Linked DNA regions of Homo sapiens: all the other regions are linked to region 2. The links are contacts of gene promoters, found by promoter capture Hi-C in human tissues and cell types (Jung and others, 2019). All regions are on one chromosome and are shown on one strand. Each heading gives the region's core, a stretch centred on a gene start or on the middle of the fragment in contact. The rest is flanking DNA. Distances are from core to core; before and after follow the strand shown. Region 1 has its middle 36 kb from the start of P2RX7. Region 2 holds the start of CABP1 (calcium binding protein 1). Region 3 holds the start of P2RX7 (purinergic receptor P2X 7). Region 4 holds the start of SPPL3 (signal peptide peptidase like 3). Region 5 holds the start of OASL (2'-5'-oligoadenylate synthetase like). Region 6 has its middle 30 kb from the start of XLOC_009911.

Region 1 (3,988 bases), core at 558-3,057, 460 kb after region 2:
AGATCCTTAACCACCCCACCTCCAAAAAAGAAAGAAAGTGGTAACAATGTAAGATGGTGGGTGTTTTAGTTTGCGGTGATCATTTCACAATGTGTATTAAATATCCGGTTGCCCACTTTAAATATATACAATGTTTACTTTTCAAGCATATTCAGATAAAGCTGGGGGAAAACAAACAGCTTTCTGGGGCCATTGTTTGCAGACCCCTGAGTTAGGGCATTGTGTGATGGCTGGGTCAATTTCACTTCAGCATGGTAAGAGGCACGTGACAAAAACTGGCATGAAAGGGGCTGTTGGAACCAAGGGGCAGGAAAGGGCTGCCCTATAGGATCCGCCAGAAGACAGACCGGCATTTCACGAAGTGAGCAAATTCCGGAGGAAATAAAGGATTTCCGTTTTAAGGGGTTGGGAGGCAAGAGAAAAGGCTGAGAGGGTGTGTGTGTCTGAAATGGGGTCTCTGGGTGAGAAAACGTGTGAGATAAAGTGCGAGGCTGGAAAAACGCGCACGTGTGCAGGAGGCGGGGATCTGCTGCACCGAGTGTGCACATTTGCACGAACCGTGGGGGCGTCTGCGGCTGTGGGTGGAGAGGAAATCCTGGATCACACATCTGAGAGAGGGGGTGTGGGTGGGAGTGGGAGAGTATGTAAGAGCGTGGGTCGTGACAGGTGAGGGACTTGTGTGTGCAACTGTGCGTCCTGCGAGAGTGAGGAGGTCTCGGACTGAGGAACTGCGTTCAGTGCTCAGTGGTGAGTTCCCACGCAAGAGCCTGGGGAGTCAACCAGAAAGACCCGCACGCGGGGCGGGCCCAGCGACCTCGGGCGCCATCTGCTGATTACCAGACGCCACTACCTGAGAAAGGCCCCTCCAGTCTCCTCATTGCCCAGCTGCGGACCCTAAGCTGAGCCATAACCGTCCTACCAACCCACGTCAGCAGAAGAGCCCAGTGGGAGGGCGTGTGTTCACTTCTGCTCCTCTGGGCAAAGACGCCCAGGTCAGAAACACCCACCCGACCCTCCCACTACCCAGAGACAGCCCCACCTGCACAGCTCAGAGCAGGACCACTGACCCTCTGGCTCTCCGGTCATATTTGCTATTGAAGACCAGAATAAAGTATTTTTATCAGGATTGAATACATGACTCATGAATGAATAAATTCATTCTCCTTACATATCGGTTCCTATTGAGAAATATGGTGGCTAGAATTTATTTCCTCCGGAAAGAGGAATAAATGTGGAGCCCCTGGGTTTGGTGCTATTTATTACCCATTTCTCTGATGTTGTAAGAAAAGAGAGATTCAGAAGAAATATCACATTTCAGCCCCGAACTTACGTAGCTTGCTGCCGTTCTAGGTGATTTACTTAGATTGGCTTCTGCATTTTGACAAATGAGGAAATTGGGAGAATTAAAGCCTCTGGTTTTAAAGCCTGCTGCTGGGTCAAGTAGAACTGTGACTTTTATTTTTTTTTTTTTAGACAGAGTCTTGCTCTGTTGCCCAGGCTGGAGTGCAGTGGCACAATCTCAGCTCACTGCAACCTCCACCTCCCGGGCTCCCTCAGCGATTCTCCTGCCTCAGCCTCCCAAGCAGCTGGAACTACAGATGCCCACCACCACGCACGGCTAATTTTTGCATTTTTAGTAGAGGTGGAGTTTCACCGTGTTGGCCAGGCTGGTCTCAAACTCCTGACCTCAAATGACCCACCCACCTCAGCCTTCCGAAGTGCTGGGATTACAGGTGTGAGCCACCGTGCCCGGCCCAGAACTATGACATTTTGTTTTTGTTTTTCTCTGTTTCTTTGAAAAGAAATGGAGTGAAGGTGCAGAGATATGAGATAAATTATTTAAACACATTATTATTATTGTTGTTATTATTATTATTATTATTATTATTATTATTGAGTCGGAATTTCACTCTTGTTGCCCAGGCTCGAGTGCAATGGCATGATCTCAGCTCACTGCAACCTCCACCTCATGGGTTCAAGTTATTCTCTTGCCTCAGCCTCCCAAGTAGCTGGGATTACAGGCATGCGCCACCACGTCGGGGTATTTTTTTTTTTTTTTTTTTTTTTTAGTAGAGATGGGTTTCTCCATGTTGGTCAGGCTGGTCTCGAACTCCTGACCTCAGATGATCCACCCACCTCGGCCTCCCAAAGTGCTGGGATTACAGGCGTGAGCCACCGCACCCTGCCTTAAACACGTTATTAAATCAGTAAAATGAAGGGCCTGACAAATAAATGACCACTGAGCTAGGATGTAGAAGACCAAGGCCTGGAAGAAGGGGAGTCTGCCTCTTCTGTCACTGGTGAGCTACGACCTTCCCTGCAGGCACACCCTACGCTGTCCTTCAGGCTGGCTCTCCATGCCCTCGGGGGCCTCGGTCCAAACATCTGGACAAAGGCCCTATGAAAGGACCTCTAACAAAATATTTTCCACCATATTCAGCTAGAGTTGCATGTTTTTCTATTTTTCCTAATGAGAACATAGGACTTGAGAACTGATCATGTGTCTTCGCTTTAATTTGAAATGATCAGAATAATCTGAAAAAAACAGAACTATTGTCCAGGAAATGAGAGAGAACTGAATTCAGTCACTTAAATATATAATCAAATCCCTTCCCCAGCCTTCCCCCACATGTGCTGGTTTTTTCATTCTCACTCTTCAAACTGATCACCTATTAATCATCTAAAACCACAACAAAATGCTTTTGAAAACTTTTTAAAAAGAAGTGCATCTCATTTTATGTAAGTTGTGATGTAAGAAAAATAGTAAGATTATAAAAATATTTTTTACTTTTGATACAGTGACTAGCAAAGGTAAAAAAAAAAAAAAAACATAGGACATCGAAGGGTCAATTCATTGTCTGGGAAGAGGTTTTGGATTTATTTACCAAGCTTCTAAACATGGATCTTCCTAATCATAGAGAAAAAGCCCTTTCAAAGCAGTTGTTGTAGGCCGGGTGCAGTGGCTCAGGCCTGTAATCCCAACACTTTGGGAGGCTGAGGTGGGTGGATCACCTGAGGTCAGGAGTTTGAGACCGGCATGGCCAACATGGTGAAACTCCATCTCTATTAAAAATACAAAAATAGATTGTGGTGGTGTACGCCTGTAGTCCCAACTACTCTGGAGGCTGAGGCGGGAGAATAGCTTGAGCCTGGGAGGTGAAGGTTGCAGTGATCGCGCCACTGCACTCCAGCTTGGGCGACAGAGACTCCATCTCAAAAGAAAAAAGTGTGGTCTAGTGAGGGTGATTTTAAACTGATTAGGTTTAATTCATTTCCTTGATCTAAATATGAAGTGTTTTTACTCTGTGAGCAGAAAGTTTTTGAAACTAGTTCATGAAGGTGAGTCCAGTGGTATTTTTCTTTTTTACTTCTCAGCCTTCTACGAAAGGCAAATATAAGACAGCAAAATCCAAAGAATGGAGTTATTAAGGCTGCAAGTGGAGTCCGAGGCCAGTTCCATGCCAGGCATGGTGCGTGCACTGAGAGACAGGGATCCTCTGCTCCAGGAGCCGAAGGCACATGCTGTTTTGCTTACTACTGAACTCTACTACACATTTAAAGAAGAACCATTACCAATCCTACTCAAACTCTTCCAAAAAACTAAAGAGGAGGGAACACTTCCAAACTCACTTTACAAGGCCACCATTACCCTGATACCCAAACCAGACAAGAACACAACAACAAAAAAAAGAAAACTACAGGCCAATATTCCCGATGAACATAGAGCCAAAATCCTCAACAAGATACTAGCAAACTGAATCTAACAGCACATCAAAAAGACCATTCACCATGATTGTTGATGGCTGATGCAAGACCTCAGTTCTTGTCTTCTTAGTTTAAGAAAATTTAAACAGACTCACAGCAAAGGAGATGCAACATAGAGTAATTTATTGCAAAAGAAAAAGACTATTTTGGGCTAGGTGCAGTGGCTCACACCTGTAATCCCAGCACTTTGGGAGGCCGAGGTAGGCAGATCACCTGAGGTTGG
Region 2 (3,721 bases), core at 1,134-3,633:
TACAAATGAAATGGAATCCTGGCATACATCCAGGATTATCTGGGATATGAGTGAAGGTGTTTCATCCATTTGCTTCATGGACATAATTTTTATTTATTTACTCTAGTAATCATAGGTAACATAATCAGATTCTTCAGTTTTTCAAAAACTAGTTGGTGACCGAGGTCTTGCCCAAAAATATTTAGGGCATTTCAGAAAGGTTACCAACAGTGGCACAGCAGGGATTTAGAATACCCAGCAGTCCTCTGCCTCTCATTGGCTCCTGAGGGTTTCTGATAAGGTTCTTTATCTCCTGTGATTTATATTGAATGTGCCTTTGTTTTTAATCCTGCCAAACACTGATTATTCTGAGGGCTGGAGCAGGTAAGACATTGACTGACCTCGAACTCAAAGGGTGGACTCATTACACCCTGCATATCCCAGAGGACCCTGCAATGAGCCTTCAGGGCTGCAACGCCCCAGGCTGCTTCAGGATTTGGGCTTTAGGAACCTGAGTGGCTTTGATATGGCAATTCAGTCCCTTAAGGGTAGCTGATCTGGGGAACAATTTGCCACACTTTCCTAGTTTACTTTAGCCTCTGGGCAGTTGCTTTCCCAGCCCATCCATTTTCCTTAATTCCTTGCCTATGGATAAGTAAAAGAGGCACACAGGGCCCAGCGCGGTGGCTCACGCCTGTAATCCCAGCATTTTGGGAGGCCAAGGCGGGCAGATCATGAGGTCAGGAGATCGAGACCATCCTGGCTAACATGGTGAGACCCCATCTCTACTAAAAATACAAAAAATTAGCTGGGTGTGGTGGCGGGTGCCTGTAATCCCAGCTACTCGGGAGGCTGAGGCAGGAGAATCGCTTGAACCTGGGGGGCAGAGGTTGCAGTGAGCCGAGATCGTGCCACTGCACTCCAGCCTGGTGACAGAGCAACACTCTGTAAAGAAGCAGACAGTGCAGAGAAGGATGAACTCTTGGCATGAGTGAAGTGTAATATCGGCAATCTGTTTGTGTACCCTTCTTTTTTTTTTTTTTTTTTTTTTTTTTTGAGACAGGGTCTCACTCTGTTGCCCAGGCTGGAGTGTAGTGACCCAATCTCGGCTCACTGCAACTTTCACTTCCCGGGTTCAAGTTATTCTCATGCCTACAAGTGGCTGGGATTACAGGCGCCCACCACCACGCCTGGCTAATTTTTGTATTTTTAGTAGAGACAGGGTTTCACCATGTTGGCCAGGCTGGTCTCGAACTCCTGACCTCAAGTGATCCGCCGGTCTTGGCCTCCCAAAGTGCTGGGATTACAGGTGCGAGCCACTGTGCCCGGCCTCGTGTATCCTTTTAATGAGGCCGAGCGGTGACAAGACTGTGGATGGCATTGGGGCCAGGGACCAGAACAGGGAGAGCCTGGGAGGAACCCCTCCAGCCCCCCGCAAAGCTCAAGCACCGGATACTAAAGAAGAATGGTAGATGGGGCCTCACGATGTGCAGGGGGAAGGGAACTGGCTTAACTGGATGGTCCCCTGTCCGAGCACTGGGCTAGGCCTTTTGTGTGCATAGTATCGTCTGCTGTTACCAAGAAATTAGTTATGCTTATCATCTGCATTTTACAGAAGAGGAGAACAAGGCTCAGAGAGGTTGATGACACCTGCCCAAGTTACCCAGATGGTAGGTGGCAGAGCTGGGATTTGAGATTCAGATAAGGCCTGGGACGCTCCCTGGCTGCCCACCGAGAGCAGGAATTTCTGTAGCATCTAGAAAGGCAGGAAGGTGAAAGAGGGGACAAGAGCTGGAGGGGGAGCAAATGGGTCCTACCTGAGACTTACCATCATCAGGTGCTGCCAGACCTGGCTTCTCTTCTATTCTGAGAACTGATATCCTGTGGCTGACTTACCAGGGTCGTCCTAGTCCCCCCGCACGGTATTGGGAGTGGAGGCAGCCCCACACGGAGGCGCTGGGAGACTTTCCTCCCAGCAGTGTCCTGTCACTGCATTCCGGCCCCTGCGTTTGTAGGCAGTGATGTCACAGAGTGCCTTCATGCTCCTCGGGTCTCCGGTTCTCCCCGGACCTCTGTAGTCCTCATTGCCAAAGTTGTACCCCCTGGGGAGTGCACCCTGCCTGCATTTCTGGAGGTTCGGGCGGTTCCGGGGCTCTGCAGGAGCCTCCAGGCGTGATAAAGAGCGCTGCCGGCACTCCCGGGGTCTCGGCCTCTTTGGGGCCCATTGCCAAGCCCCTTCCCTCCTCGTGCTCCCGCTCCGCGTTGCAGCGTCCCCTTCGCCGCCAGGGGCCGCCCGGAAGCGGGGCTCCCCCAGGGCGGGGCGGGGCAAGGGGCGGGGCGCGGCGGTACCTGGGCCGCCAGGGAGCCGGGGGTGGGCTCTCCGGGGACAGCCGGCAGCGCCCCCAGATCTGCACCGCCAGCCGCCGGGAGCTCCGGGCTCCGGGCGTAGAGGCTGCGCTGTCACATGGGCGGCGGCGACGGGGCCGCATTTAAGCGGCCGGGGGACGGCGCCCGCCTCCAGCGCGTCCTCGGGCTTGGCTCCCGCCGGGAGCCCCGTTCTCTGCCCGCCGGGGGCCCCGCGCCGCGCCGCACCGCGCCGCCCCCGCCGGGCCATGCGAGCGCGGGCCCCGCCGCGATGAGCTCGCACATCGCCAAAAGCGAGTCCAAGACGTCGCTGCTGAAGGCGGCGGCGGCGGCGGCGAGCGGGGGCAGCCGGGCTCCCCGCCACGGCCCTGCCCGGGACCCGGGGCTGCCTAGCCGCCGGCTACCCGGCTCCTGCCCGGCGACGCCGCAGTCGTCCGGGGACCCCAGTTCGCGGAGGCCCCTGTGCCGGCCGGCGCCGCGAGAGGAGGGCGCGCGGGGGAGCCAGCGTGTGCTCCCCCAGGCGCACTGCAGGCCCCGGGAGGCGCTGCCGGCCGCGGCGTCCCGACCTTCGCCGTCGTCGCCGCTGCCGCCGGCCCGCGGGCGGGATGGGGAGGAACGGGGACTGTCCCCGGCGCTCGGCCTCCGGGGCTCTCTGCGAGCCCGGGGCCGCGGGGACTCCGTTCCAGCCGCCGCGTCCGAGGCGGACCCGTTCCTCCACCGGCTGCGCCCCATGCTCAGCTCCGCCTTTGGCCAGGTAAGGGCCGCGCCTCCCGTCAGCGCTCCCGGGAAAGGCGCTCGGGACCCTGCCGGCCGCGGTTGCGCGTCCACAGCCTCCTCCCGCGGCCCGTGGTCCCCCACGGATCACGCCTCGGCTCACCTCGTCCTCCCCGGGCCGGCGCCCTTGCCGGCACTCCTCCTCCCCGTGCCTGATTCAGCACCCCGTGCGCTGTCCACGCTCCGGGCCTCTTGGGGCAAGGCCCTCCCCGCTAGCCTCCCTCATACCCGCCAGAACCCGCCAGTCCTGGAAGAGAGCGACCTCTACGACCGTCCTGGAGATTTGCGGGGGTCAAGGAGGGGCGCTCCGAGCAGGTGGCGCCAAACCCACTCCTCTGGCCTCTGGCCAGTACCGCCAGGGAGGGACTCAGGAGAGCAAGCGGTTTGGAGTCTGGGGGTCAAGAGAGGGGACCTCAGAGAACACAGAATTACTTGAGGGCGAGGGACACTGGCCACTGCCTATCATGTCCCTGAAGGCCTGAGAAAAGTTAGGAGATCCAAAAATATGAGGAAAGAGAAGAGGTGTCTGGGTAGGCATGGAGGGGCATGCAGAGCTGTGGCTCAAACTGGAACTTTGGGGTGGTTTAAGGAGGCTGTCACTCTA
Region 3 (4,167 bases), core at 1,353-3,852, 490 kb after region 2:
GGAAAATACTGGTCCAAGATGCAGAAAGTAGCCAGTGATGTTGAATGCATCCAAGAGATCAAGTAACATAAGGAATAAAATATATCCACCCAGTCTGGCAACTGAGAAGTCTTTGGTAACCTCTTTGAGAACAGAATCCATGGAGTGGAGGAGGTAGCAGTGATGAAATAGCGGACAAGGGCTGAAGGAGTGGAGAGGGGAGAGCATGAGGGACCAGTGCAAGAGTGCAGCAGAAAGACAACAAACAGGCCGGGTGTAGTGGCTCACGCCTGTAATCCCAACACTTTGGTAGGCTAAGGCGGGCAGATCGCTTGTGACCAGGAGTTCGAGACCAACCTAGCCAACATGGTGAAACCCCATCTCTACTAAAAACACAAAAATCAGCTGAGCGTGCGCATGGCTGTAATTGCAGATACTCATGAGGCTGAGGCACAAGAATCGCTTGAACCCAGGAGGCAGGGGTTGCAGTGACCCAAAGTCTTGCCACTGCACTACAGCCTGGGCAACAGGGGGAGACTCCATCTCAAAAAAACAAAAAAAAAAAAAAAAAAAAAAAAAGAAAGAAAGAAAAGAGAAAGAAAGAAAGACAAGAAAATAGATGTCTTTGAGTGGTAGCAAGAGCAACACTGAAGTGATTTGCCTATTCTGGACATTTCCTATAAATGGAGTCGTAAAAGATGTATCCTTTTGTGTCTGGCCTCTTTCACTTAAGCGTAGTGTTTTCAAGGTTCATCCATGTTGGAGCATGGGTCAGTGTTTCATTCCTTTTTATGGCTGAATAATATTCCCTTGTATGGGCTTTCGTGCTTTTGTGTATCCATCCATCAGCTGATGGACATTTGACTTGTCTGCCTGTTCACTGCCATATCTACTATTCCTGGTGCTCTTGGGAATGAGTGAATGAATAGCATAAACAGAGCTGTCCAGGGTCACAGAGCTGGTAAGATGTGAAGCCAGGATCGGAAGCCAGGCCATTAGTCCCCTAGAGCCTATGTTCTAAGCATCAGGCTTTACCTGTGAATCTCCTCTTTTTACAGATGAAGATGACCGTATCACTCAGATTCCCGGCAGGAAAGCAATGGCATACTCAAGTGGGGTAACTAATGATGGAACCATTTACAAAGGTGTGGACAGAGTTAAGAAAAAGCAATAGGAGATAGTGAGCTTCCTGGGGCTGGTAAGAGTGGGGAGCCCTTACCACTCCCAGGACTAAAGGAGGGAGTGGTGCCCAGAAGCCCTGCCTATATGCAACTGAGAAGGGCAGGGCCAGGGAGTCACGTCCATCCTCACTGCTCTCCAGTCTCCTGAACTGGAAGCCAGAAGGTGAGGGGAACCCTGATGCAGTTTGTATGTGTGAGAAAGTACAATTAGTTTAGACTGAAAAACTGAAAATCTACCCGGCCACTTAGCAGGCTGGAATAACAGAAAGGGATCAAGCCAGCTGTAAAGATAACAGGGAACAATAATTCTCTGTAGCTGTAAAGTGATAATACAACCCTGCATCTTTGAGTGACTGCTGAAACATTGTCCTTTAAAATCAGAGACCTTCAGAAACTTTGCTGTTTGAAATTACATGACTAAGACTGAAATATTCCAATTTTGCCTGGAAGATTTAAGTCATCTTGACACAGAGAAGCAGCCTCAATTTACAACTCAGGAGCAGAGCTTCAGATAAAGATTTTCTGGACACATTTGACATGTATCTTAGCTATGTTGCTTCCTAGGAAACAGGGCCCTGGGTCCTCTTTGCAATCCAGACTGAAGTTGACTGCTTTGTACAAACCTGTTTTGCTTTGAGTCCATCAAAACATGACTTCATTTAGATTTTATCTCAACTCCACTTTCCTCGGAATCCTATAATAAATTGCTGTTTTCCTTTGTTTGGTGATGTGCGTAGCTCTTCTGGTGGGTGGTGTCCCTCACTGAATAGGTCAACAAACCTAACTTTGTTGGACTGCCACTGTGTCCCTGGTGATCTTTGGCTGATTGGTCTAGGTCATAGATCGACCTGCCGGGGTGCAGAGGAGGGTGGAGAGTAACTCAGAGGGTCAAGCATGAAAGATCTGGCAGAAAAATAAAGCCCCTCCACCCCCACCACCCCTACCCCTGCAAATCTGATTTCCCCCACCAACTGCAGACCAGAGTATTATAAGGGGCGGTGGAAGAAGAGGGGGAGATCTTCATTTACCCAGAGCTCCTATACATCAGGGGCTGAATAAAGGGTTGTAGAAATGAATGAATCAATCTCTGAGTGGGGCTTCAGGCAATGGAAAGATCTCAGTCCTTTTCTGAGGCATAATGGAAGCTCCCAGTCTTGTGACATTTGCAAGGCTGCCCCTTTCTCCCAAGAGACATGAGACCAAAAAAGTGAAAGGAAAGGGGGGAAAAGGGAGAATTCTAAAAATGCCCATCCTCTGAACACCATCTTTGTGTAGGCATCTGGGGGAGGCCAGCTGGGGTGAGGTCATCTGCCAGCCAGGCCCGTAGGACTTGGCGCTTCTTGTTTATCACAGCCACATGTGGGGCCACTGCCAGGGCCCGCCCCAACTCTGCAGTCATTGGAGGAGCTTGAAGTTAAAGACTCCTGCTAAAAACCAGTACGTTTCATTTTGCAGTTACTGGGAGGGGGCTTGCTGTGGCCCTGTCAGGAAGAGTAGAGCTCTGGTCCAGCTCCGCGCAGGGAGGGAGGCTGTCACCATGCCGGCCTGCTGCAGCTGCAGTGATGTTTTCCAGTATGAGACGAACAAAGTCACTCGGATCCAGAGCATGAATTATGGCACCATTAAGTGGTTCTTCCACGTGATCATCTTTTCCTACGTTTGGTAAGTGGGATCTGGGGAGGACCCAGATCTCTGCAGTGGCCGACAGCACAGAAAGCCCCAGCGGGCAGCTTCAGGTGCACATTCTGAATCTCACATGGTTTTCGAATCTGAGACGTGCTCTCACAGCCAGCTGGGCGGGAGGGAGGAAGCAGCAGCAGGCAAGAGGAAACGGTGCCAGGCTGCAGCAGAGAGAAGCCACAGGACAAGCGGGATTCCTTTCTGCTCTACTTCAGGCCCGCCAGGGCGCGCAGGGCAGGGCGTGCCTGGGGAAGGTAGGAAAGCGCAGGGCAACACCCTGGATCCCCAGGGAGGAGGCGAGGATCTCAGGGCACGCCTGGTGATCATGCTGGCATCTGAGTCACCATGCTTGGGAGGAATAGGACCAGGCTTGAAAATGTGTTATAACTTTAGGTCCTCACCAACGTCAGGAAGGCCCTGCTTTTTGGTTTTTGTTTCTTCTAAAAGAAACTTACTGAGATATAATTTATACACCATACAATTGACCCATTTAAAGGGTACCATTTAATGATTTTCAGATTATTCCCAGAGTTGTGCAACCATCCCCACAATCAATTTTAGAATATTTTAATCGACTCAAAAGGAATCCCACACTCCTTCACCATCATTTCCAACACTGTTCCTCCTCCTTCCCACCCATCAATTTCCTTTCTGCCTCTATGGATTTGCCGATTCTGGACATTTCATATAAATGGAATCACATAATATGTGGTCCTTTGTGGCACTTAGCGTGTTTTCAATGCTCATCCATGTTGTAGCATGTGTTGATACTTCATTCAATTTTTTTTTTTAAAGAGACGGGGTCTCACTATTTTGTCCAGGCTGGTCTCAAACTCCTGGACTCAAGTGATCTGCCTGCCTCGGCCTCCCAAAGTGTCAGGATTACAGGCGTGAGCCATTGCACCCGGCTGATACTTCATTCCTTTTTACGGCTGAGTAGTACTCCATTGCATGGATAGACCACTTTTTTCTATCCATTCATCCATTGATGGACATTGGGGTTGTTTCTCTTTTTTGGCTATCATGAATAATGCCACATGAACATTTGTGTACAAGGTTTTATGTGGATATATATTCTCCTTTCTCTCGAATATGTACCTAAGAGTAAAAATTGCTAGGTCATATGTTAACTATGTTTCACCTTTGGGGGGAATGTGGAGCTGAATTTCACAGCAGCTGCAGTTTTTTACATTCCTATCAGCAGAGTATGAGGGATCCAATTTCTCCACATCCTCACCAACGCTTGTTATCGTCTGTCTTTTTGGGTTTTGTTGTTGTCATTTTGTTTTTGTCTTTGAGATGAAGTCTTGCTCTGTTGCCCAGGCTG
Region 4 (3,714 bases), core at 1,188-3,687, 260 kb after region 2:
TTTCTATTCTTTCAACCATCCAGGGCCTCTGTACAGCACAGTAAAAACAGCAAAGCAGCCATTAGGACTCTCAGGGCCACAGCCATTAGGGCCAGAGTATGAGAAGCTCAAGATGAGTAACCACAAGGCATGACAGAAACACCTTTACCTTCATTTCTTACTCTGTCCAGAAGGAAGCTGAAATTGTAATCTTGTGTTCCCTACGACCTGCTACTGAAAGGCAGCTGTCACGCAAAACTATGAAATTAGCTTAAACCTCTTTTTAGAGCACGTGTTCACCAAGATTTTAATTCTTCCTTTAGGGTTACTTTGTCTCTCAGTTACCTTCTTCTTGAGATTGCACATACATCAATGAAGTTCTCTTAAGAATTATCATCTTCAATCCCCAACTCCCTTTCTCTTATGTGAAGACTCAATGAGTTACTGACTTATAACCTCTAACACTATAAATAATCCACTCAAAGTCTTCTACCTAAAACCATTCCTTATTTTCTGATATTACCCATTTCTTAGATGTTTCTCTAGGATAATTATAATTAATGTAGTAAGATCTGTGGCACTTCACAGTTTGCCAAGTGCTTTCTAAATGTACTCACTTAATCCTTACAGGCTGTGGAAAAGGTAATTCCCTCTATTTTATAGGTAAGGAAAAAGGACCGAAGAACTCACTACCATGTCGTATCAACAAAGCAAGTTGGTGGCAAACCGGACCTCCGAAATAGGTCTTCCAACTCCACACGGCATGCTCGTCCCATTCTATTATGCTCTTTTCTAAGAAGGGAATGTCTACAGTTCTGTCCCAAACCACATTTGCTTCAAGAGTAAACCATCTTCAAACCATTTCTCTAAATTGCAATCAGGTCCCCCACTCCTACGATCATGCCATTTCTTGCTTCCTCACTCTCCAGCTATGACTTCCTTCTCACTACCCGATTTCCACTCTTCATGGATACTGCCATCATTCCTTCAACCCGTCCTGCAAATATCCCACCTCTACATGCTAAAGGGAGACCCCTCATGTTCCTTCCCCCAAACCCTGGCACTCCCTTCTCCGGATATGTAGGTTGTCACCCCATAAACTACACAGTAGCTTCTCGCTTCTCGGCCCTTAACGAGCTACTTACTAACTTTAAAAGCCCCACAGAAATGAACTTAACTTGCAGGTCCTCCACCTCCACACTTGGCCCTGGGCGCCATTCCTCTGAAAATAATAGTACCAACCCTTACAAAGACTCTGCCCATGCCCCACTGTCACCAACGAATTCCTTTTCCAGAAGGAAAAGGAAACAGGTTCTTCAGGCTCCTCTTCCAACCTCTTCACCAGTGACTCCCCTCCAAGGTTCGTGGACTCTACCCCCGCAGTTTTCCTCCCCTCACTCCCGGGCCTCTGCCCACCTCACCAACTCTCCCTGCGCTCCCTGTCCCAGAGCCAAGCGGCGGCCGCTCCACTCTCCCAACTTAGAAGTTCTGCCTCTATCACCTGTTCTCACTAGAGCTTCCTCTCAGCCCAGCGGCCCACCTTTGCCCTGGCCTGCCTCTCTCCACCCCTTCGAGTCCTCCTGCCCAGGAAACACCCCCACGAGTCAGTTCCGGGGTGCCTGTCGGATTCAACTTCCCATCCGTGGGATTCCCACCCCCGGGGTCATGCTCCCCTTCTCCATCACCTGCTCCGCCCATAGCCAGATGACATCCGCCGCTGCCTCCTCCTCCATTCCCCTTCTCGGACGCCAGGTCCCCGGCCACTCACCGCCCTCCGTGCGCGCCAGCCGCCCCCTCCGGTGGGGAAGAGGGGGGCGTGCACCCCAACCCGCGCCCCCCCCCCACGACACGCACCTGTTCTTCCTCCTCTTCCCCTCGGCGGGCCGCGCCGGCGCCCCGACCCCCACCCTTGCCGCCTCCCGGCCTCCCGGAGCCCCGCACTCACCACGAGTAGGTCTGCTCCGCCATGGCGCTGCCTCTCGTGGGCTCCGCTGCAGGCTGTGGCCGGGCCCGGCGGCGGCGGGCTCGCTCGGGCCGTAGCTGAAGGCGCGGCCGGGGTCCGGTGCTTGCTTGCTTGCTCGCTCGCTGGCTCGCTGGCTGCACGGCGGGCCGGGAAGGCGGCTGGCGGGGAGAGGCCGGGCTCCGAAGCGGCCCCGCTCCCTGGGCCCCGGGGCGGGGCGGGCTCCGCTCTCGGCCTCCCTCACCCGCGGCGGCGGCGGCGGCTCCGCTGCAGCTCCAAACCCAACATGGCGGCGGCGGCGGCGCGGAGAACAAGGGGGCCCTGGGGCGGGCGAACGGCAAGACGGGCCCGCGCTCACTGCGCGCGGGGCCGCGGGAGCGCCGCGCTCGGGCGGCGGCGGCGGCGGCCGGGGGACATGGCCGGCGGGCGGAGGCGGCGGCGACTGAGGGGGGCGCTAGGCGATGAGGCGAGGCCACTCGATCACACCCGCCGAGGGGAGGAGGGGCGGGGGCGGGGGCGAGCCTTGGCCCCGCGCGGGTCACGTGCCCAAAACACGCTCACGTGATGCGCGCCCCGCCCCTCGAGCCGGGCCCATGCGCAGAGACGTCGGCTCCTGGGTTCTAGGCGGCTGCTGCTCGCACAGCCAGAGCAGTTGGGCCGCCTCCCGCTGCCTGGTGCCGCCCCCCTCCCCACGCGGAGATGTCGCCTCGGGTACCCTCTTCCGCCCCTCTCCGAGGGGCTGCTGCACCAGCCAATCGGGAACCCCGATGCGCGTCTGTTGGCTGCCACTCAGCTGTCAACCGTCAGTCAACAGTCTGCTGGCCACGGGCCCCCCAACTGTCAGTCAACCTGTCAGTCAACAGGCAGAGGGCTGCATTCCTTCGTTCGTATGTTCCTTGGTTCATTCATTCAGGTAGCAAATATTCCAGGCAGCCAACCTTTATTGCGCCCAGGCCCGGCACCAAGTCGAATACCCCACGCTTGCCTTCACAGAATCAATCAACAGATATTTGTTGGGTGCCAACCATGTGTCAACTCACTCTGCCTTCCTAGAGCTTACATTCTAAAGGAAGAGACATAGTCCAAGCCCACAAATAAGATAATTTCAGATGCTGCTAAGTTTTACAAAAACACATTTTGTAACACAAGGTGAGGGGACAGAGAGTGAGCAGAGGTGTGGGTTACTTTAGATAGGGTGGTCAAGGAAGGCCTCGCTTAGGAGGTGACATTTGAGCTGATATTGAATGATGACAGAGAGCTGGCCTTGCAAAGATCCACAGGAAAAGAGTTCCTGGCAGAGGGAACAGCAAGGGCAGAAGGCTCAGGAAACCGTCCATTTGGAGGTCTGGAAACCGGCACAGAAATAAACACGGTAGAGCTAGACCAGAGACCAACAAAGTGAATCTGGAGCTTAGATGGAGAGAGAAGAGAGAGATTAATTGAGGCCCCAGGTACTGCGGAATGCTTCCCCAGGAGTGGATGAGGCCGTCTGAAAGGGTGAGAGGCTTATCAAAGAAAAGTCATTCTTTTGGCCGGGCGCGGTGGCTCACGCCTGTAGTCCCAGCACTTTGGGAGGCCGAGGTGGGTGGATCATGAGGTCAGGAGATCGGGACCATCCTGGTTAACACGGTGAAACCCTGTCTCTACTAAAAATACAAAAAATTAGCCGGGCGTGGTGGTGGACGCCTGTAATCCCAGCTACTCAGGAGGTTGAGGCAGGAGAATGGCGTGAACCCCGGAGGCAGAGCTTGCAGTGAGCCGAGATTGCGCCACTG
Region 5 (3,968 bases), core at 864-3,363, 400 kb after region 2:
GAGAGAACTTGAGCACTGGGCTGGGAGTCAGGGGTCCTAATTCTAGTCTTGCCTTTGCCACCAACTCGCTGTGTGACCTTGGGGTATCTCTCACCCTCTCTGTGCCTCGGTTTACTTAATTTTTTAAGTGAGTCATTGGTGAGACTGTCTGATTCTCCAAAGTCTTTCTAGCTCCGACCCTCTTGAATTTTGATCTTAGCTAGCACAGGCGGTGGCATGAAACAGCTGGAGGAAGGGCTTGGGGGAAAATCTCAGTGAGGGGGGCTTGGGTCCCTTGAGTCAAGTTCAAATCCCAGCTTCAACACTGTGTGACCTTGGGCAAGTCACCTCACCTCTCTGAGCCTCCATTAAAAAATCATTTTAGGCCGAGTGCAGTGGCTCACTGTAATCCCAGCACTTTGGGAGGCCGAGGAGGGCAGATCATGAGGTCAGGAGATCGAGACCATCCTAGCCAACACGGTGAAACCCTGTCTCTACTAAAATACAAAAAATTAGCCGGGCGTGGTGGTGGGCGCTGTCGTCCCAGCTACTTGGGAGGCTGAGGCAGGGGAATTGCTTGAACCTGGGAGGCAGAGGTTGCAGTGAGCTGAGATCGTGCCACTGCACTCCAGCCTGGTGACAGAGCAAGACTCTGTCTCAAAAAAAAAAAAACAAAAACAAAAATCATTTTATTGGCCGGCCAGACATGGTGGCTCACACCTGTAATCCCAGCACTTTGGGAGGCCAAGGTGGGCATATTCTTGATCCCAGGAGTTCGAGACCAGCATGGGCAACATTGGTGAAACCCTATCTCTACAAAAAATACAAAAATTAGCTGAGCATGGTGGTGCATGCCTGTAATCCCAAGCTATTTAGGAGGCTGAGGATCACCTGAGCTCAGGGAGATTGAGGCTACAGTGAGTGGTGATTGTGCCACTGCACTCCAGCCTGGGTGACAGAGCGAGACCCTGTCTCTAAAAAAAAAAAAAGTCATTTTATTATCAAAAAGTTAAAACACATAGAAAAATAGATGATACAACTAACACTCATATACCCAACTAGTTGATTCAACAAGTCTAAATTCCTGGCTACATGTGCTTAATCTAAGCCACGTTAAAGTAAATTATAGGCACCAAGGAACTTTGTCCCTAAAATACTTCAGTGTTCGTGTCCAAACAAAAGACAACCTTCTGATAACCACAAAACTACTGTTACACCTAACAAAATCAACAATGATTTCCCATATCAGATATATGTACTATCTGATATCTAGGCCAGTTGTCCCCAAACTATATTTTACAGATGGTTCATTCACACTAGGATCCAACCAAGGACCTCGCATTGTATTGGTTCTGAGCCTCCATTTGCTAATCTGTAAACTGGGCAAAGAATAGTACCTATCTCACAGAGTGCAAGAATTAGAGATAGTGTATGTTAAGAGGTTAGTCCAGTGAGCCCCCAAATGTGAGCTATTATTACTAGACTCATTCTACTCAAGGCAGTGGTGCAGTGGGGTGTAGACAGCTAGGTGGGATGGGGTATTCTGAGATGTCATCAGCATGGGCTAGGGATAAGGAGGACAGGGGTCCCCAGCATCCCCAGGGACGTGGACTCTGATACTGGGTTTTGTCTTGCGTGGGGGCTGGAGGAGCCCAGTCTTACCTTGACTACCTTCAGCACCCGCACATCCTGGTCCAGCCCACGCTTCCCCTGGAAATGCTCCTGCCTCAGAAACTCCTCCACGGTCCGCACAGCGTCTAGCACCTCTTCCTTCCACTCCCGGTGGGGCTGCAGCCACTGAGCCACGAAGGAGTCCAGCCTGGAGGCTGGTGTGCTATACAGTTCCTGCATCAGTGCCATCTCTGTCCCGAGAGTACCGCTGCTGGGCAGATATATAGCCAGGCTCCTACCCAGCTCCCTGGCACACACCTCCTTTTTTAAGGTAGCTCCTCCTCAGCTGCCCTCCAGTGCTCTGTGGGAGGAGGGACCCTAGCAGAGAGGAAACCAGGTGTGACGGGCTGACTCCAGGTCCCCCTTCTTGGAGACACCCTTGCTGCAGTAGGGGCACAGGAGGACTCTGGGCTGAGGCTGGAATATCTGGGGCCACCTTAACAGGCTGGCCGTCTAGTCAATCTGTCATCAGTTTCGATTCTCAACTTTTAGAGTTCTCCTTTATGACGTTGGGAAACTGAAGTTGGATAGTGTTTGACCCCAAAGGAGGCAACTTGCCCAGTAGGTTGGGGTTGGATAGTTGTTAGTCAATTCAACTGCTTACATCTGTCTAAGGAAATTGAGGCTTGGGAACGGAAGGGACTCACTAGTGTTCAGGTGGTGGAGTGAGAATCTGGAGCCCAAGAGAACAGACTGGGAATTCTAGTCTACCTGTGCCAGACTCTAACCTCTTTGACCCTCACTATTCATAGAGTGGGTTTTTTTGTTTTTTTGTTTTTTTTTTTTTTTGGCCGGGTCTTGCTCTGTTGCCCAGGCTGGAGTGCAGTGGTGCAATCTCAGCTCACTACAACCTCTGCCTCACGGGTTCAAGCGATTCTCCTGCCTCAGCCTCCCTAGTAGCTGGGACTACAGACATGTGCCACCACGCCCGGCTAATTTTTTTTTTGTATTTTTAGTAGAGACGGGGGTCTCACCATTTTGGTCAGGCTGGTCTCAAACTCCTGACCTCAAATGATCCGCCCACCTCGGCCTCCCACAGTGCTAGGATTACAGCGTGAGCCACCGCGCCCGGCCCATAGAGTGGGTTTAACAGGTATTATGATTCACGCACTGAACCAAGAAGTTCATGCATTGAGCCAAGAAGACAAAATAAGATGAGGTTCCTGTTCCAAGGGGACTCCCAGAACGGTGGAGGAGACACAGAAAAAAGAGACTGCAAAAGTCCAGTGCGATGAGTTAAGTAGGAAAAAAGCATGAAAACATGAAGCCGGCAGATGAGTTTCATTTGGTGTTAGCAGACACCTGCTTGAGAGGAATCTTAAAGACTGGGGATCCGGGCTGGGCATGGTGGCTCATGCTTGTAGTCCCAGCACTTTGGGAGGCCAAGGTGAGAGGATCACTTGAGGCCAGGAGTTCAAGACCAGCCTGGGCAACATAGCTGGACACCTGCAACTTCCCAAACTCTGAATAATATTAAGTGCTCCAGGGCTTAGTCCTGGGTCCTTTTCTCTTCTTGTTCTAGACTTACTCCCTTGGTGATTTCAGCCAGCGTTTAAATGTTTTTACTCTGGCAACTTCCACATTTTAATTTTATTTTTATTTATTTGTTTATTTTTGAGATGGAGTCTCACTGTCTCGCCCAGGCTGGAGTTCAGTGACACAATCTCGGCTCACTGCAACCTCTGCCTCCCAGGTTCAGGCGATTCTTGTGCCTCAGCCTCCCAAGGAGCTGGGATTACAGGAGCCCGCCACCGCGCCTGGCTAACTTTTTGTATTTTTAGTAGGGACAGTGTTTCACCATGTTGCCCAGGCTGGTCTTGAACTCCTGATCTGCCCTCCTCGGCCTCCCAAAGTGCTGGGATTACAGGCGTGAGCCACCATACCCAGTGACTCCCACATTTGTATCTTAAATCCATACCTCTTCCCTGAAATCCAGACTCATGTATCCAACTCCCCACTCCACATTGGCTTTGAATTCCGGTCTGCCCTTTGCCACACTTGTAACTTCTCTGCTTCTGTGGTGAGGATGATTGCAAGGGCAAGAACAGATGTAGGGAGATGGTCAGGACACTGCACAGTGGTGCAGGTGAGAGGCAGTGGTGGCCTGGAGTTTAAAACTCCAGTTTTTGTTTTAAAAACAAAAAGTTTTTTAAAAAATAGCTAGGTGTGGTGGTGTCCACCTGTAGCCCCAGCTACTTGGGAGGCTGAGGTGGGAGGACCACTTGAGTCTAGGAGTTTCAGGCTGCAGTGAACTATCATGGTGCCACTGCACTCCAGCCTGGGTGACAGCATGAGACTCTGTCTCCAAATAAAAAATA
Region 6 (3,964 bases), core at 307-2,806, 290 kb after region 2:
GAGGCGTGTGGACTCTGCCAGCTGTCAGCACACCGGGCTGTCACGATGCACTCAGGTTCCAATAATGTGCTGAGAATGCAGGAAAGGCAGCTCAGGGCTTTATAGACTCGCTGCCCCCAGTCCATCCAGAGGCCCAGAGAGGCCAAGCTACTCACCCAAGGACACACAGGCCTTGAAATCTGATACTTTCTGAATCCCAGCACTGCATGGCCTTTGCGTTCTGTGAGTGGCTCACACTGGGGAGCTGGTGACACCCTGACATGGGCTCCATACTTGCTGCTCCTTCTGCTTTTCTTCCAGTGGCACACTTGAGGGATGCAGGGACTCACATAGGACCAATTCCTGCCCCACTGTGTCCCCTAAGTAACCCACATCCAAAATATATCCCGAATTCAGCCATTTTCCTTCTTAGGTCAATTCATTCCTTCTCTCTCTCTCTTTCTCTCTCTCTCCTCTGTCAGAGAGACAGGGTCTTGCTCTGTCACCCAGGCTGGAGTGCAGTGATGTGGTACAATCATAGCTCACTGCAGCCTTGAATTTCTGAGCTCAAGCAATCCTCTTGCCTCAGCCTCCCAACTAGTTGAACTACAGGCATGTGCCACTGCATCCAGCCAAGTTTTTTTTGTTTTTGTTTTTAGTAGAGACAAAGTCTCGTCATGTTGCCCAGGCTGGTCTCAAACCCCTGGGGTCAAGCAATCCTCCTGCCTTGGCCTCCCAAAGTGCTGGGATTACAGGCTTGAGCCATGGCGCTGCCACCGCCTACTCCTCCTCCTCCTCCTCCTCTTCCTCTTCTTCTTCCTCTTCTTTTTTTTTTTTTTTGAGTTGTACAAGAAAATGAGAGGCCAAAGGCCCGTGATTTACAGGCAGCCTGGTGGAGGAGAAGTGGTGTGTAGTGCTGTTACATGGTCTCTAGGGCCATATACTCCGGTTTGAGTTTCTAGTTCTTTGACTATATGACTGTGGCTAAGCAATGAAGCTTTCTAGACCTGCGTTCTCATTCATTAAATAGGAATGATAACACCTCATAAGTATCTAAATGAGATACTGTAGGTAAGTGTACATCATAGAATTTTAAATCTGGTAAGTGTGTGGTAGGCTGAATAATAACCCCTAAAAGATGTCCAGGTCCTGCCGGGAGCAGGCTCACACCTGTAATCCCAGCACTTTGGGAAGCCAAGGTGGCGGGATCACCTGAGGTTGGGAGTTCAAGACCAGCCTGACCAACATGGAGAAACCCCCTCTCTACTAAAAATACAAAATCAGCTGGCCGTGGTGGCACATGCCTGTAATCCCAGCTACTCAGGAAGCTGAGGCAGGAGAATTTCTTGAACCCGTGAGGTGGAGGTTGCGTTGAGCCAAGATCGCGCCATTGCACTCCAGCCTGCGCAACAAGAGCAAAACTCTGTCTCAAAAAAAAAAAAAAGATGTCCATGTCCTAATCTCTAGAACTCTAGAACCTATGATTATAGGAAAGGAGACTTTGTAGATGCATCAAATTAATATTTTTGAGATGAGGAGATTATCCTGGATTATCTAGCCCAATATAATCACACAGGTCCTTGGAAGAGGTGGGCACACCAGAGTGAGCGGTAGCAGATTTGACGATGGAAACAAGAGGTTGTAGTGATCGATGAAGGGAATGTGAGCCAAGGAATGCAGGTGGTCCTCTAGAAGATGAAAAAGGCAAGGACACATTCTTCCCTCAGAGCCCTCACAGGGAACTAGCCCTATAAAACCGATGTCAGATTCATGACCTCCGCAACTATGAGAATAAGCTTGTGTAAAGTCAATATTTGTGGTAATTTCTACAGCAGCAGTAGGAAACTAATATAGGATGTTACTCACATTTATTCATTTGTTTACTTATTTATGAGACAAAGTCTCGCTCTGTTCAGGCTGGAGTGCGGTGGTGTGATCTCGGCTCACTGCAACCTCCGCTTCTCAGGTTCAAGTGATTCTTCTGCCTCAGCCTCCCAAGTAGCTGGGATTACAAGTGTGCACCACTACAGCTGGCTCATTTTTATATTTTTAGTAGAGATGGGGTTTCACTATGTTGGCCAGGCTGGTCTTGAACTCTTGGTCTCAAGTGATCTGCCTGCCTCAGCCTCCCAAAGTGCCAGGATTACAGGCATGAGCCACCGTGCCCAGCCTCTTCTTCTTTTCTTCTTCCTTCTCCTCCTCCTTTTTTGATTGAGATATAGTTCACAAACTATAAAATTCACCCTTTTAAAGTGTGCAATTCAGTGGTTTTTAGTGTAGCTATCAACTTGCCCAACCACTTTCATAATCTACTTCCAAACCATTTTTATCTTCCCCAAAGAAACCCCACACCCATTCACCGTCATTCCCCATTCTCTCACCACCCCCAACCTCAAGCCCTTGTCAACATCTAATCTAATTTCTATCTCTATGGAGATGCCTATTCTGGACATTGCATATAAATGGAATCATACGATTTACAGTCTTCTGTGTCTGGCTTCTTTCACTCTGCAGAATGTTTTCAAGGTTCATCCATGTTGCAGTGTGTCAGTACTGCATTCCTCTTTTTTTTTTTTTTTTTTTTTTTTTTTTTTGAGACAGACTCTTGCTCTGTTGCCCAGGCTGGAGTGCAGTGGCACGATCTCAGCTCACTGCAACCTCCGCCTCCTAGGCTTAAGCAATTCTCATGCTTCAGCCTCCCGAGTAGCTGGGATTACAGGCCTGTGCCACCACACCCGGCTAATGTTTGTATTTTTAGTAGAGATGAGATTTTACCAGGTTGGCCAGGCTGATCTTGAACTCCTGGCCTCAAGTGATCCACCCACATTGGCCTCCCAAAGTGCTGGGATTACAGGCATGAGCCACTGTGCCCAGCTGCATTGCTTGTTATGGTCAGAATGATTCTATTGTACAGATAGGCCACATTCTGTTCCCTCGGTGGATGGACATTTGGGTTGTTTCCACTTTTGAACTACTATAAAGCTGCTATGAGCTTTCATATATAAGTTTTTGTGTGAACATGGTTACTGCTTGCCTGGATGAGACCGTTAACCTCCTCACTGGACTCTCAGCCTCTGCCCTTAACCCACACAGGGTCCATCCTCCTCACAGCAGCCAGAGGAGTCCTTTGAAAGTCAGGTCATGTCATTCCTGTGTTCTAAACCACCAGTGGCTCCCCAGTGCCCTGAGGATAAAGTTGAAGACCCAGCACAATCTCCACCCCAGCTCCAGCCCCACTTCTTCTTCACTGGCTGGCTCTCAGTTCCTCAAATGAGCAATCCTCCTTCCTGCCTCCCTCCCTCTGCAAGTGCCGGCCTTCTGCTTGGAATGCTTCTCCGGCTCCTTATTCCCTTCTGCCTTTAACTCCTCTTCATCCTTCAGGTCTCCAGGGAAAATCAGGGTTCAGGGAGGCCTTCTTTCTCTCTCTCTCTCTCTCTCTTTTTTTTTTTTTTTTGAGACAGCATCTCACTCTGTCGCCCAGGCTGGAGTGCAGTGGAGCGATCTCGGCTCACTGCAGCCTCAACCTCTGCGTCTCAGCCTCCTGAGTAGCTGGGATCACAGGCACGCACCACCAGGCTGGTGAATTATTTATTTATTTTTTGTGACAGAGTTTCGCGCTTGTTGCCCAGGCTGGAGTGCAATGGTGCAATCTCAGCTCACCGCAACCTCCACCTCCCAGCTTCAAGCAATTTTCCTGCCTCAGCCTCCCGAGTAGCTGGGATTATAGGCATGCACCATCACACCCGGCTAATGTTGTATTTTTAGTAGAGATGGAGTTTGTCCATATTGGTCAGGCTGGTCTCGAACTCCTGACCTCAGGTGATCCGCCCCCCTCAGCCTCCCAAAGTGCTGGGATTACAGGCGTGAGCCACTGCGCCCGGCCTGAATTTTTTAGTTTTTTTGTAGAGACTGGGTCTGGCTATGTTGCCCAGACTGGTAGGGAAGCCTTCACTGATCTTCCCACTAAGAGGCACTAGGGGTGGGT

What was found. The method cuts DNA at HindIII sites, captures the fragments that hold promoters and counts their contacts. A contact is called where the count stands out against the background at its distance.
Region 1: a contact is called between a fragment that was not itself captured here and the fragment with the promoter of CABP1 in region 2, in 4 of the 25 tissues and cell types used here (H1 embryonic stem cells, adrenal gland, lymphoblastoid cells and 1 more).
Region 3: the fragment with the promoter of P2RX7 here is called in contact with the fragment with the promoter of CABP1 in region 2 in 5 of the 25 tissues and cell types used here (adrenal gland, bladder, dorsolateral prefrontal cortex and 2 more).
Region 4: the fragment with the promoter of SPPL3 here is called in contact with the fragment with the promoter of CABP1 in region 2 in 3 of the 25 tissues and cell types used here (pancreas, small bowel and stomach).
Region 5: the fragment with the promoter of OASL here is called in contact with the fragment with the promoter of CABP1 in region 2 in 1 of the 25 tissues and cell types used here (neural progenitor cells).
Region 6: a fragment that was not itself captured here is called in contact with the fragment with the promoter of CABP1 in region 2 in 4 of the 25 tissues and cell types used here (aorta, dorsolateral prefrontal cortex, lymphoblastoid cells and 1 more).

Annotation. Positions count from the first base shown.
Region 1 is chr12:121,095,299-121,099,286 of GRCh38, forward strand. No RefSeq gene overlaps it. Among named protein-coding and RNA genes, the nearest start is that of P2RX7, 36 kb to the right of the region's middle. The HindIII fragment of the contact is 6,899 bases long and covers 1-3,988 here.
Region 2 is chr12:120,638,243-120,641,963 of GRCh38, forward strand. It overlaps CABP1 (calcium binding protein 1), which reads left to right and starts at 2,384. Exons shown (of 6, transcript NM_001033677.2): 1 at 2,384-3,097. The coding sequence starts at 2,444. CABP1-DT (CABP1 divergent transcript) reads right to left here and starts at 2,280. Exons shown (of 2, transcript NR_183426.1): 1 at 1,808-2,280. RefSeq lists an enhancer at 271-772 and silencers at 2,244-2,543, 2,764-2,863, 2,874-3,043, 3,264-3,363. The HindIII fragment of the contact is 37,846 bases long and covers 1-3,721 here.
Region 3 is chr12:121,130,274-121,134,440 of GRCh38, forward strand. It overlaps P2RX7 (purinergic receptor P2X 7), which reads left to right and starts at 2,603. Exons shown (of 13, transcript NM_002562.6): 1 at 2,603-2,822. The coding sequence starts at 2,698. The region is part of intron 2 of LOC105370032 (a long non-coding RNA gene); the gene reads right to left. The HindIII fragment of the contact is 21,026 bases long and covers 1-4,167 here.
Region 4 is chr12:120,901,921-120,905,634 of GRCh38, forward strand. SPPL3 (signal peptide peptidase like 3) reads right to left here and starts at 2,438. Exons shown (of 11, transcript NM_139015.5): 1 at 1,925-2,438. The coding sequence starts at 1,947. It overlaps XLOC_009911 (a long non-coding RNA gene), which reads left to right and starts at 2,775. Exons shown (of 2, transcript NR_131215.1): 1 at 2,775-2,852. RefSeq lists silencers at 1,788-1,837, 1,978-2,197, 2,278-2,637. The HindIII fragment of the contact is 15,749 bases long and covers 1-3,714 here.
Region 5 is chr12:121,037,133-121,041,100 of GRCh38, forward strand. OASL (2'-5'-oligoadenylate synthetase like) reads right to left here and starts at 2,114. Exons shown (of 6, transcript NM_003733.4): 1 at 1,642-2,114. The coding sequence starts at 1,839. RefSeq lists enhancers at 1,278-1,779, 1,780-2,279, 1,859-2,278. The HindIII fragment of the contact is 11,669 bases long and covers 1-2,186 here.
Region 6 is chr12:120,933,171-120,937,134 of GRCh38, forward strand. No RefSeq gene overlaps it. Among named protein-coding and RNA genes, the nearest start is that of XLOC_009911, 30 kb to the left of the region's middle. The HindIII fragment of the contact is 5,842 bases long and covers 1-3,964 here.